2 separate regions of the Homo sapiens genome follow, and region 1 is linked to region 2. The links are contacts of gene promoters, found by promoter capture Hi-C in human tissues and cell types (Jung and others, 2019). All regions are on one chromosome and are shown on one strand. The core of a region is centred on a gene start or on the middle of the fragment in contact, and the rest is flanking DNA. Distances in the headings are between cores, read along the strand shown.

Region 1 (6,920 bases), core at 2,556-5,055, 36 kb after region 2:
TAGTTATTTTTTCTGCTCCTCTACCTCCTCCAACCTTCCACCATCTGAAAGTCTCTAGTGTCTGTTGTTTTCCTCTATGTGTTCATATGTCCTAATCATTTAGCTCCAACTTACAAGTGAGGACATGCAGTATTTGGTTTTCTTTTCCTGCATTAGTTCATTAATTTGCAAAGGATAATGTGCTCCATCTTCCATCATATTCCTCCTGCAAAAGACATAGTCTTGCTTTTCTTGTGGCTTCATAGTATTCCATGTTGAATGTGTACCACATTTTCTTTACCCAGTCTACCACTGATAAGCATTTAGGTTGATTCCATGTCCTTGCTAATAATTAGTGATGTTGAGCATTTTTCATATGCTTGTTGGCTAGGAAATACCATCCTATGCATAGAAATGGGCAAAGCTTTTATGAAGCAGATGCCAAAAGCAATTGCAACAGAAACAAATGATGACAAATGGGATCTGGTAAAAATAAAGAGCATCTGCACAGCAAAAGAAACTATGAACACTCTGAATATAAAACCTACAGAATGGTACCAAATGTTCACAAACTATACCTCTGACAAAGTTCTAATGTCCAGCATCTATAATGAATATAAACAAATTAAAAAAAAACAACTTTATTAAAATGTGGGCAAAGAACAGGAAAAGTAAATTTTTATTTATCAGAAAATTGCAATTTAAGGACTAGAGATAGGAGACAAATCCATGACAAGGTTCAGGTCAAGGCAAAGCTCATAAGAAGTTGGCATTGACCAGGAGTTAGTATTGTCATTATAACAGTGGGTTAGTGGTCAAAAGTATGAAAGCACATGGCCTCAGTTTGAATCCTGAGCTGACATCTACCTGTCTTATTAAAAGGATATGAAAAGACACTTCTCAAAAGAAGATGTTTATGCAGCCAACAAATATATGAAAAAAAGATCAACATCACTGGTCATTAGAGAAATGCAGATCAAAACCACAGTGGGATACCATCTCATGCCAGTTAGAATGGTGACCACTAAAAAGTCAGGAAATAACAGATGCTGGAGAGGATGTGGAGAAATAGGAATGCTTTTACACTGTTGGTGGGAGTGTAAATTTGTTCTACCATTGTGGAAGACAGTGTGGTGATTCCTCAAGGATCTAGAACAAGAAATATCATTCGACCCAGTGATCCCATTACTGAGTATATACCCAAAAGCTTATAAATCATTCTACTATGAAGATACATGCACACGTACATTTATTGTGGCACTGTTCACAATAGCAAAGACTTGGAACCAACCCAAATTTCCATCAATGATAGGTTGAATAAAGTGGCACATATACACCATGGAATACTATGCAGCCATAAAAAAGGCTGAGCTCATGTCATTTGCAGGGACATGGATGAAGCTGGAAACCATCATTCTCAGCAAACTAACACAAGAACAGAAAATAAAACACCGCATGCTCTCACTCATAAGTGGGAGTTGAACATTGAGTACACATGGACACAGGGAGGGGAACATCACACACTGGGGCCTGTCAGGGGGTAGAAGGGTAGGGGAGAAATAGCATTAGGAGAAATACCTAATGTAGATGACAGGTTGATGGGTGCAGCAAACCACCACGGCACATGTATACCTATGTAACCAACCTGCACATTCTGCACATGTATCCCAGAACTTAAAGTATAATAAAAAAAATTTTAAAAATAAAGAATAAATTGTCTCTACAAAAAACTTCTTAAAAAATTAGCCTAGTGTTGTGGTGTTCCTGTAGTCCTAGCTACTCAGCAGGCTGAGGTGGGAGGATCCCTAGAGCCTAGGAGTCAGAGGTTACAGTAAGCTTCAATGTCACCACTGCATTTCAGCCTGTGCAACAGAGAGAGAGACCCTGTCTCAAAACAAAAGAAAAGGATTACCAAACCCAAACATAAAGCTTTTAGAGAAAAATAGGAGCCATCTCCCTTGATTACTTGGCAGCAGGCAAAGCTTTCTTAGACAGATTACAGAAAAAGCATAAAAGAAAAAATAATAAAATAATAAATTAGACTTCATAAACAAATGACAACAGTGAAAACTCCCACTCACAAGACACTGTAGAAACAATCCAAGTATCCACCAATTGGAGAATGAATAAACAAACGAGGTGCAGAATATGCAGTATACTCATATACATCTGTGACACGCAACAATACAGATGAATCCAAAACATGTTAGGCTGAGTGGAAACTAGCCACAAAAGAGTACATACTGAATGCATAATTTCATATATAAGATATTCTAAAACAATCTCCTCTGGGAAGCAAGGGCTGAGTTGGACTGCAAAGAGGCATGAAGGGACATTTGTGTGGTCATAATAATGTCTTATGGGTTTGGGTTTATAGAGGTGTAAGCATTTGTTGAAACTCAAAAAATGTATAGTGAAGATACATGCATTTCGTTGTATGCAAATTTTATAACGAAATACTGAAAAATATACTGTAGTCAATTATATATATATATGCTGACTATGAGTAAAAAAAGCACATCTCTTCCTAGATTTTACTGTTAAATTGAATGAATAAAAATCATATATCTTTCTTATCTGGTTATTGTGAGTAGCCATGCAATGGTTCTTAGAATACTTGCTGAAATTATTCTCATCATAAAGAGATTCTTAGTAAATGTTTGCTACTATCACCGTTTTTTCTTGTTGTATTTTGATTTTAGAATTTAAGAAGAGTTCAATATTTTACTTTGAGACATTGCATTGAATGCTTTGAGGCATTTAGTGTTAAAATAATTATGGACTAATAGACAAATAATAAGGATGGATATAAGTATATGCTTACCAAGTTAAAATTATGAAGTGTTAATGCATAGCACTGTAGCAATAGCAATGGAGGTAACTTCTGTTCTTGTTATTTAAAGATCACAGTGGGAAGACTGTGTTTTTCAGAGGGTGACATTAATCCTGATTTATGTTTTTAATACAATTGTAAAAAACTATAATCAAGAAGTTACATAATACAAAGAACCAATACAATGCATGTCATTTCATATACATTCAATATGTGTTAACTATTCAAAAATTATCTTTATTTTTCAACACCAGAATGAGTTTATTAAAATTAATATTAAAAACATAATAGTAAATATTAAAATTATTTAATTTTTGTTAATGTAACTATTAATAAAATAGCATAACTAAAATTATTGTGTGTACTGAAATAATTTAAAAACAACAAATTTCTGGTTTCAGACATTTTGGCTGTTAAACAGAAATATTCCAATTTATCTCTTTCAAGCCCGTTATTTTATAATTATTTCAAATGAGACAAAAGCAACCACAACCACAATAACAAAGAATATGGTCACTTTTATACTAGTATCTTATTTTTTTCAATTGTTTTAAACAGGTAAATTTGAAAGGCGTAGTGGTTTACAATTCATCAGTGATGGGATTAAAAATATTAACATCATAATTATTTCCTTATAATTAAATAGAAGAGGAACTAGTGATTGATTATGTCATGCCAATTTACTGAAAATAAAGCATTTTGGAAGAGTTTTAAAAACAATAAAAAAATTGAGTAACTAATGTGAGATGATTGACACATGCTTACCTGCTTCATTATAGCAACCTTTTCACTACATATTTGCATCTGATGATAGCATCTCGTATACATTATATATACCAAATAAAATTTATCCAGAAAAATAACATTTGATGAGCTCTCATGCTGAAAGACTGGCATAAACATGGTGAAAACTAGACAGTACTCTAATAATATTTATGTTTCCCTGCTTCAACTTTGTTCTCAGTCTTCTTTATAATGTGTTGTTACCATCTTCAGCAATTCCTATTTCATTTTTGACTATTTTAAAACTTATGCACTAGCCTAGAACCTCTGATAAACATTTCCACTAAAACCACCAAAGTGAAGTATAGGCGACACTCCAGTATGAAGTGTGTTACCACTTCATGATAAAGACTGGGGATTTTTTCCCATATAAAATGCTGTCACTGGAAATAAAAGACAGGCTGTTATTTTTCAGTTGCAACTGAAATATCCCTACATAAGGAGAAAGGGTGTTTGTAATGATTGAATTAGGAGACAGACAACCTAGAAAATTATTGAACTTTTATTGTTTAAGAGGTAACTACAGTTGAAATAGAAATAAAGATAATTTGTTCTAGCCATAAAGAACGTAACTGTGTATAAAAAAAATGGTAACTGTTGTAATTAATTGTATTTTTCCCCCAGGACTGGAACATAAATATAAACATGCTAGATTTTATTTTTGAGTTTTTAAATAATAAATGGTGAATCTGTTTTTTTTCTGTTGAAGTATTTTCATCATGATTGGCTGTTAGCCATGTTTTCAATCTTTGTTCTTCAGAGTCTCACCAAGGCCATTCTGGACTACCCACTATACAGCGAAGTATTGATACTAAGGTATCTGATTTCCTGTCATCAAATTTCCATGTGATCATTTATATAAAGAAAATACTTTGTTCTGAGTCAAATTCAAATTAAACCATATTTGTTAGAATTCTAAAAAGACTGAGAACCCTACTAAATGCCTTCTATATAGCAGACAAAGAAAACAGAATAGGACAGGTTAATTAATGAGAACTACTAGAAGACTGAAGTAAGCAGAACAACTATATTTCCTGGACTTATTTTTACATTAGATCAGTTTAAATGCAATCATAATATTTCATACATAGTGACTTAAACAATTGAGATAATAAATGAAAAATTCAAGTATTTAATTGTTAGACAGTCATAATTCTGGTGTGAAGAAGAGTAACAAATTAATAATGGTCCACACTTTTTAAATTAATGTTTGTACTATACTCACTCTCTTCTTCCAAATTTATTATTAAGCTTTTTTATTTTTAAAACAATGAAATGGGAGACAGTTTACTTATATCCACTTGTTCCATAGTTACAGTCTGACATCTTTTGATTTACAAACAAAGCAAATCTATGTAATCCTCTCTGTATGAGAAATAAATTAATTCTGCTTAGGAATTACATATAAAGATAAAAAATTTCAAGTGGCATTTTTCATGTATATCCATAATATTATTACATTTGTTAGCATGGACATTTTTAGATATGAGAAAGAATGATTGGCATCTTATAAATAATAGTGCTGTTGAAAAAAATTCTAAAATGCAATGATGCTAAATTTTATTCAAAGACTGTTAAATCTTCGATGACATACTCCAAAGCATTGACAGCAGTGTTTAATATGGTTGTCTATAGCTAAGCCATTTGGTACATGCCTAGTACCATAATGAGGTACTGATTTTGGAATTACCAGGAAATCATCATAAACTAGTGCATAATTTACAAATTTTTAAAATTTAGTTTTTATGTGAGTGTTAAAAATAACTTCAGGTTTGCAGCCAAAAATAGTATAGGTAATTATAAAAAGCTACGTAGAATAAAAAAATAAAGAGTATTTCATAAGTATTCAAAGATCATAGTTGTGTTGTACATATTAGAAAGTTAGTTATTATTATATTTTAGGGGTTGGAGCATCTGAACTTCTCTCCTTGCTTGAGTTTTCCTCTCTTTCTTCTTCTTCTTCCTTTTTGTTTTTATTTGAAATAGTCTCACTCTGCCTTTCAGGTTGGAGTGTGGAAGTGTGATCACAGCTCACTGTAACCTTAAACTCCTGGGCTCCATCAATCCTCCTGCCTCAGCCTCAAGAATAGCTAAGACTACAGGCATGCACCTCTGCACACTTCTATTTATTATTATTATTATTACTTTTTGTAGACACAGGGTCTCTGTATGTTGCCCAGACTGGTCTCGAACTCCTGGGCTCGAGGAATTCTCCGACTTTCCTCTCTGCAGCTGGTTGTCCTGATGTCTGCTCAGCTCCTAGCTGAAAAGAGGCCTTAGAGTGGGTTGCTCCTCTCTGCAGCTTGTTGTCCCGATGTCTCTGCAGGTCTCAGAAGCTCTCCACTGAGAAGGTAGTTCCTCTCTGCAGCTGGTCATATTGTCATCTGCTCAGCTATGGCTGAACCCATAGTTTTAATGGGCCTCACTAGGGAGAAAGTGCAAGTTAATTGGTCTGTGAGCAGCCATGGGTGGGCCCAGAAGAGGCACCACAAGTTCCCACTTCGGTCCATGGGACAGACAGGCAACCTAGTCCCCAGCCTTCAGGCTTTCCCCGGTCCTGAAGATGGGGATCACTGGGGACCCACCCCCTTTTGCCCAGGAATCAGTCTGCCTCCTGCTGTCACTCATGGTGCCTAGGCTCAGTCCCAACTTTGCTATGAGATCAAGTGGGCACTGACATCAGGAAGAAGCCAGGCAGTAAGATCAGGCACTTCTGAGCCTGTGAGGGCAGAGGAGTTTCCCAACAGGTGCTATCAATAATTTAAATGTTAAAGTAACTTTGCATTGCTGAGATTAATTTCACTTATTTGTGGTATATAATAACTTTTGTATGTTCTTATATTCAGTTTGCTAAGATATTATTGTGGAATTTTGTGTCTATAATTACAAGAGCTGTTGATCTGTAGTTTTCATTTTTTGTGATGTGTTTTTTGTGGTTTTAGTAGAAGGGGTCAATGAAATATGTTGGTAGTGTTTTCTCCTCTTCTATTATTAGGAGGATTGTTTTTTGAAGAATTGTTATGTTTTCTTCCTTGAATGATTTGTAGAATTCTAAAACAAAGCCTTCTTGGCCTGGGCTTTTTTTTTGGTGGGTTGTCTTTTGATTAGTAATTCAGTCTTTCCGTTTTTTATGGGTCTATTCAGGTTTTCTATTTCCTCTCCGGTTTATTCTATAGTTGTTCTTGTCTGCATCTACCTGTAGTAAAATTCTGACACGCTGAGTTCGGAGGGGATGAGGGGGCAGTTTTTGTTTGCAAGGTAAGAGGCGATCCCTGTTTTTATCAAGTCTTAGGAAATTTACTTGAATAAGTATTGCTTTGCATTG
Region 2 (6,707 bases), core at 1,783-4,282:
GAGGAGAATGGGCCTTTAGAGTCCTACATGTGACCAGGCATTGGATATTGGCTGTCTTGGAAAAGTCACTACATACTAGATAGCTTTCAGCAGAGATGTACTGAGAGAGAGAGCTTATAGGTGAGGTATGTCAGTTGTTCATCACTTCATCAGCTGGAAAGTAATTTCTATATTCCCAAAAGGGAAATCTGGGTGACACATAATGCCTGCACTCAAGGACATTGAAAATATTGAACAATATTGCCACTCTCCAGGCAATATTTGCTCAGAAACTGTGTTCAAATATCTTTTTAAGAAAGATTTACCTCATTTCAGATTAACAGATTATTAATAGAATAAAAACAAATATCTCTATTTTGTGACATGCATCTTTTCCTTCCTAATTCTACTTGATGTAAATTTCTATTTAGACTTTTTAAAAGTACAACTTGCCTGAATTACAAGGCAATCTGTGAAACAAGTTAAGTAGTAGGCATTTAGAAGATAAATATTTTCTAAGACTGAGAAATGTAAGCAATGTTGCAAATATTCAGAAAAGGATATTATTGTGATTTAGACAAAATATTTTCAAATGAAACAAAGTAACTGTAATTGTACTTAAAACATATCTGTTTGGATAAAAATAAAAGGAATTTCTACAGTCAGAAAAACAATGTCAAGGAACATGAAATGAAGCTAATATAATAAGTGTGAAACTACATAGAGAAAATGAAGATATTCTATTTGAGAATGTTTAGATAAATAAGAATAGATCACACCACTGCCTCATTGTTGACAGAATGATGCTTTCTTATACTAGAAACTCTTTATATACAATTAAATTATCTCTTGTTCTGGAGACAGCCACATTTACAATAAGCAAATAACAATAAATTTATTATTCACACATACAAACACAAAATCATTCATCCTTTTCTTTATTCTCTTGCTTTCCAAAAACTCTATTGTCAACACTTAAATCATTGTGACATTGATTGACATTGATATGTACCAAGTTAGAGAAAGTTAGAAAGAAAGATAGCATTTTAACAAGTTGTCTAAGAAATGGGCTTTTTTGTTTCTTATGCTGACAGTTGTATTCTAGCTCTGAGTCCTGTGAGAATGTGCTGGTGTGGCCAGTGAAATACAGTCTTTATATCAATTTAATAATGATACTTGATGAACTTGCTCAGAAACACCAAGAGGTAACTGTGCTTGTCACCTTCAGCTTCCATCCTCATTGATTCCAACAATTTGCTGTTAAATTTGAGGTTTATCCCACATCTTTTACTGAGAATGAACTTGATTTCATTTTTATGAAATTGATCAAGATATGGACATACAAGTTTCCAAAGAGTACATTTTGGCATATGATTCAAAGATACAAAAAACACATATTATGAATGTTCTGATACTGTTCAAAAGCTCTGTGAGTATGCTGTTTTGAACAAGAAACTTATAAGGAACAACAAGATTCCAGAATTTATGTCATTCTTGCAGATGTCATTTCTCATTAGTGAGCTGCTATCTGAACAGCTTAATCTGTTAAACATTTGTTATACATTTGGTCTACTATCATCCATTTACAACTGGCAGTATGTACCAAGAACTCTGTGGAGGACTTTCATTACCTCCTTCTGATGTAGCTGTTGTCATGTCAGAACTTAGTACCAAAATACATTTACAGAAAGATGAAAAATCTTTTGCATTTTCTTCATTTTAACTTTGCATTTGATAATTTTAACAAAAAGAAGTGTGATCAGTTTTACAGTGAAGTATTAGGTAAGTTAGTGGTTAATTTATTCCCTTTTCCCTCCAATATGTGGAAGGAAACTTTCCTTTCTTTGTGTCTGTTAGAGTGTGTTAATGAATTAAAATAGAAAATAACCTTTTTTGTTATTTGAAAGATGAGGTTTGGCAAGTTGGTGGAGACACTGAAACTCTCATACATTGTTGGTGAGAATAGAAAATTATTCACCCACTGTGAAAAAGTCTAGCAATTCCTCAAAAGTTTACACATATATTTACCACATAATTCAATAATTGCCTTTCTAGGCATATACCCAAGAAAAATAAAAACATGTCTACAGAAAGCATGTACATCAATGTTAATCAACGCTATTCATAATGGCCAAAAGTGGAAGAAAAACAATGTCCGTACACTGATAAATGAATGAATAAATAAATTGTGTTTATAAGTAGCATCTGATACTATTTGGCAATAAAAATGTGAACGCTATTTATAATGGCCAAAAGTGGAAGAAAATCAATGTCCATCCACTGAAAAATGAATAAATAATTTCTGCTTATAAGTAGCATCTGATAAAAAGCAATAAAAATGAAATCCTTATATACACTATTCTATGGATGGTCCTTTAAAAACATTAAACTAAATAAAAGTAGCCAGCCACAAAAGACCACATATTATATAGTTTCATTTATTTTTAAAAAGATCCTGAATAGGCATATTTGTAGAGGCAGAAATTAGATTACTGGTTGCCCAGTACAGTGTGGGTGCAGAAATTCAGGTGGGGAGATGACAGTTAATATACAGGATTTTTTTTTTTTTTAGATAAAACTGATTGCTATGTTGGATGCACAAGTCTGTGAATTTACTAGGAAATATTTAATTTTAAATAATCATTCATGAATCATATGGTATGTGAATTATACTTCAACAAAGTTTTACAAAATATTCCTTGAACCAAGATATTCAAAAATTCTATTTGCATTGTATAATTACTTCATCTCTCATTCTGTGTCAAGGGGCCTGCAGGACTCTCTCACTTGCCACTGTTCTTGACACTATTATAAAATACATTATATAAAACACGATATTTGCAAGGTCATTAAACTTAGGTGGATGACACCAAATATAAACATAAAAGAAACATCAAACATCCTTGAGTAAATATGAAGTAATCGAACTTTGTCTCCTTGCCATCCATGTACTCAGGATGCTCATATAATGTATTTACTTTGAATTGAAGGAGTTATGTTTTAACTTGATTGATTTATCTCTGTATATAAGTATGAGAAAGAAACAGTGACTGGAAAAGAATTATCACATTGCACAAGGATGGCTCTGAAATGGACTACAGTTCTGCTGATACAACTCAGTTTTTACTTTAGCTCTGGGAGTTGTGGAAAGGTGCTGGTATGGGCCGCAGAATACAGCCTTTGGATGAATATGAAGACAATCCTGAAAGAACTTGTTCAGAGAGGTCATGAGGTGACTGTACTGGCATCTTCAGCTTCCATTCTTTTTGATCCCAACGACTCATCCACTCTTAAACTTGAAGTTTATCCTACATCTTTAACTAAAACTGAATTTGAGAATATCATCATGCAATTGGTTAAGAGATTGTCAGAAATTCAAAAAGATACATTTTGGTTACCTTTTTCACAAGAACAAGAAATCCTGTGGGCAATTAATGACATAATTAGAAACTTCTGTAAAGATGTAGTTTCAAATAAGAAACTTATGAAAAAACTACAAGAGTCAAGATTTGACATCGTTTTTGCAGATGCTTATTTACCCTGTGGTGAGCTGCTGGCTGAGCTATTTAACATACCCTTTGTGTACAGTCACAGCTTCAGTCCTGGCTACTCATTTGAAAGGCACAGTGGAGGATTTATTTTCCCTCCTTCCTACGTACCTGTTGTTATGTCAAAATTAAGTGATCAAATGACTTTCATGGAGAGGGTAAAAAATATGCTCTATGTGCTTTATTTTGACTTTTGGTTCCAAATATTTAATATGAAGAAGTGGGATCAGTTTTACAGTGAAGTTTTAGGTAAGATTTTTTTCAATTAGTAACATGAAGCTCTAACTTATTTGTGTCTTTGAAGCACAACTTGCATAAAGCCATAAAGTCAGGGAAGTGGAGTTTTTGGTAAATGAATTTATGAAATGAAAATACAAGATGATCTACCAATCTCACAAATATTATAGAAAAGCTTAAATTATAGGGTCAGTGAAAACGCTGTGACCATCACTCATACAGAACACCCCAGGAAATCATAAACCTATATATTAGTACACCTAAGACTTTAAGCAATTATATATCTGTTTTACTATAGAATGTTTCAGATCTTAAAAACAGCAAGATCCGTCAAGTAACATCTAACCGAATGCATAGATTTAGAATGAGTAATTACACATTTTTCTACAACTATCTATATAACTGCAGAAATTTTTCCTTCTAAATCTCAGTTGTCTTATTTAGAAATTAAAAGATGTTCCCATGTTACCAGGAGGTTGTCTTCACAGTAGAGAGAGATAATGTCTATATCTCAGATGCAAAAATCAATAAGGGTAATTTGAAGTTTCAAATGTTTCTATACTCCTTCACTAAATAATTGGAAATCTTTTATTTAAAGTCCAATCATCTTGTTGAAGTGTGAAGGTTGTTATATCTATATAGTTTATTTGAAACTATGTCTCTTTATTTAAAAATACGAGACTGATTATGGTCGAGTACAGATCTCTATTTCAATAATTTCTCAAAAATTTCTAGCTATAATTTACAAATATTTTTACTTAATATTATTAAGATCTTAGCTTGGATCCAAATGAGTAGTTGGTACAATGATTTCAGCCATACTCACAAAATAGTCCACAGTTAACTTGAAGAACCAAAGATAAAAGGATTAGCTTAATGAGTTGTGTAAACTAGACTATTTGTTAGAAAATTGTTTCTATGGTTACTGTAGAATTAATTGATTATGGAGCTCAAAGATTTGTTTAAATATCTAGAGGCTACTATTGAAGCTTTAAAGAGAAAATAAATTGATGTTTAATTCTCTATGACTTATTTTAATAATTGTGAGTATACTGACATGACATTAGAGATGTAGCTTAACCTCATAATTCTCCCACTACTTTGCCTTTCTTATAAATAAACAAGGGCAAAATATAGAATACATAAAAAATAAATTATTCCTATATATGAATATATGTACATATTTTTCAAAGCACACAAACTTTACCAACATTTTTGCCTGCATTATTCTAACCCCTTTCAGAAAATTACATAAAGTAATTATCTTATGTCATCCACTTCTTCTTTTCTTTATTCCTATCAGGAAGACCCACTACATTATCTGAGACAATGAGGAAAGCTGACATATGGCTTATGCGAAACTCCTGGAATTTTAAATTTCCTCATCCATTCTTACCAAATGTTGATTTTGTTGGAGGACTCCACTGCAAACCTGCCAAACCCCTACCTAAGGTAAACATACTTTCGTTGGTTTTATTTTGTTGGCTTCAAATTTCAGTAGAAATGACTGTATAGTCTTCATTCAGAGTGTTTGACTAACACTGAAAAAGATGGGAAGTAGGTGGGGTAAAGCAGATACCAATTAGAAACTCATGTACATGTTAATACCATCACACGTATGTGAGTTTTATGCATGTTACAAATAGAGAGGAATACTAAAGAAACTTTGAAAATAGGGTTGGTTAAATTAAAGTCTTGATTATGCAACACCTAAGAAGGTATTGGTCATTCATTCAAAGAATATTTACAAAGAGATTATCACAAAACACAGGTAAGTGCACAATTTTCAGAGAAAAAAAATAGACACAGTTTCTGTCCCTACATACCTTACATTCTACTTTGAAATATAGAATATAAGTAAGTAATGAATATTATATAAAAACTATTATCTCAAGAAAAAAACCCAATGCTAAGAAAGCATCAGTGGAGATAATAGAAAGTATCCTGGAGTCACTGATGAGTACGATGAGAGCTGAACAATATGCAGGAATAGGGAAAAGAATGGTGGGGAGAGACAGACAAAAAGGGAAAGCAGATAAAGTGGTCAGGACAGTTCTCAAGTCCTCAGGTTTAGTTTGCAGGGAATGATTAAGAATCAGATGACCCTAAAAGGTAAATTAGAGCCAGATACGTATTAGGAGTTGAAATATTTATTAAGAACATTGAAAACATCCTAAAAAGAGTTCAGAAATAAGGATATATGAAATGATTCTTTTTATAAGAAAAGCCTCCAAGATATTCAATGGATTAAATTGCAGAAGGGCCAGACTGTAAAGACCGAAACATTCAGGAAATTTTCCATGGATTCAGGTAGCAGATGATGAAAAAGTGGACTACACTGTTGATAGAAATAATTATGCCTACATTTACAAAAATAGTGCCAACTTCATATTGTGTTGTGTGGAAAAAAATATTAACACAGACAAAACACTTAAAATGTCTCTGGCATATAGTCAGTGACTCAGAAATGTTATTAATTTTGCAATTATGGTTATTTTATTACTAATACTACTAACTACTTAACATGTGCATGTCACTTGAGATATCATTCCTCATTTAAGAGAACCAGATTATTCAGCACATCAAGGTTATATTGTCTTGGAATGTCATAGATGACAGATACCCTTGGACTTGATTAAAAGTAGACATATCAGTTGTGACAGCAAGATAAGCTAGTTGAAATTTTAAAATTCTTCCATAAGTAATAAGGATCTTCACCAGTATTCCAGCTTAAAACACTTCCTCAACAATATAAATGTGTGCCTCAAATATGTGCAGACAAACACAGGGTTCACATGATTTTAATAAAGCATTTAAATCATTCTGCATTGAGATCCCAGAATTTTACATTTTAGAGCATAAACATATCCTATTAGAGCAGATGATTTCTGCCTTATGACAGGCCACTCAATAAAGCTTCCTGGGGGAACTCGTCTTGACATC

The links. Contacts are between HindIII fragments. The study calls those that stand out against the background at their distance.
Region 1: a fragment that was not itself captured here is called in contact with the fragment with the promoter of UGT2B10 in region 2 in 1 of the 25 tissues and cell types used here (adrenal gland).

What each region holds. Positions count from the first base shown.
Region 1 is chr4:68,848,011-68,854,930 of GRCh38, forward strand. No RefSeq gene overlaps it. Among named protein-coding and RNA genes, the nearest start is that of UGT2B10, 35 kb to the left of the region's middle. The HindIII fragment of the contact is 6,022 bases long and covers 795-6,816 here.
Region 2 is chr4:68,812,962-68,819,668 of GRCh38, forward strand. It overlaps UGT2B10 (UDP glucuronosyltransferase family 2 member B10), which reads left to right and starts at 3,033. Exons shown (of 6, transcript NM_001075.6): 1 at 3,033-3,776; 2 at 5,068-5,216. The coding sequence starts at 3,059. It also overlaps the pseudogene LOC100422189. The HindIII fragment of the contact is 5,700 bases long and covers 1-4,346 here.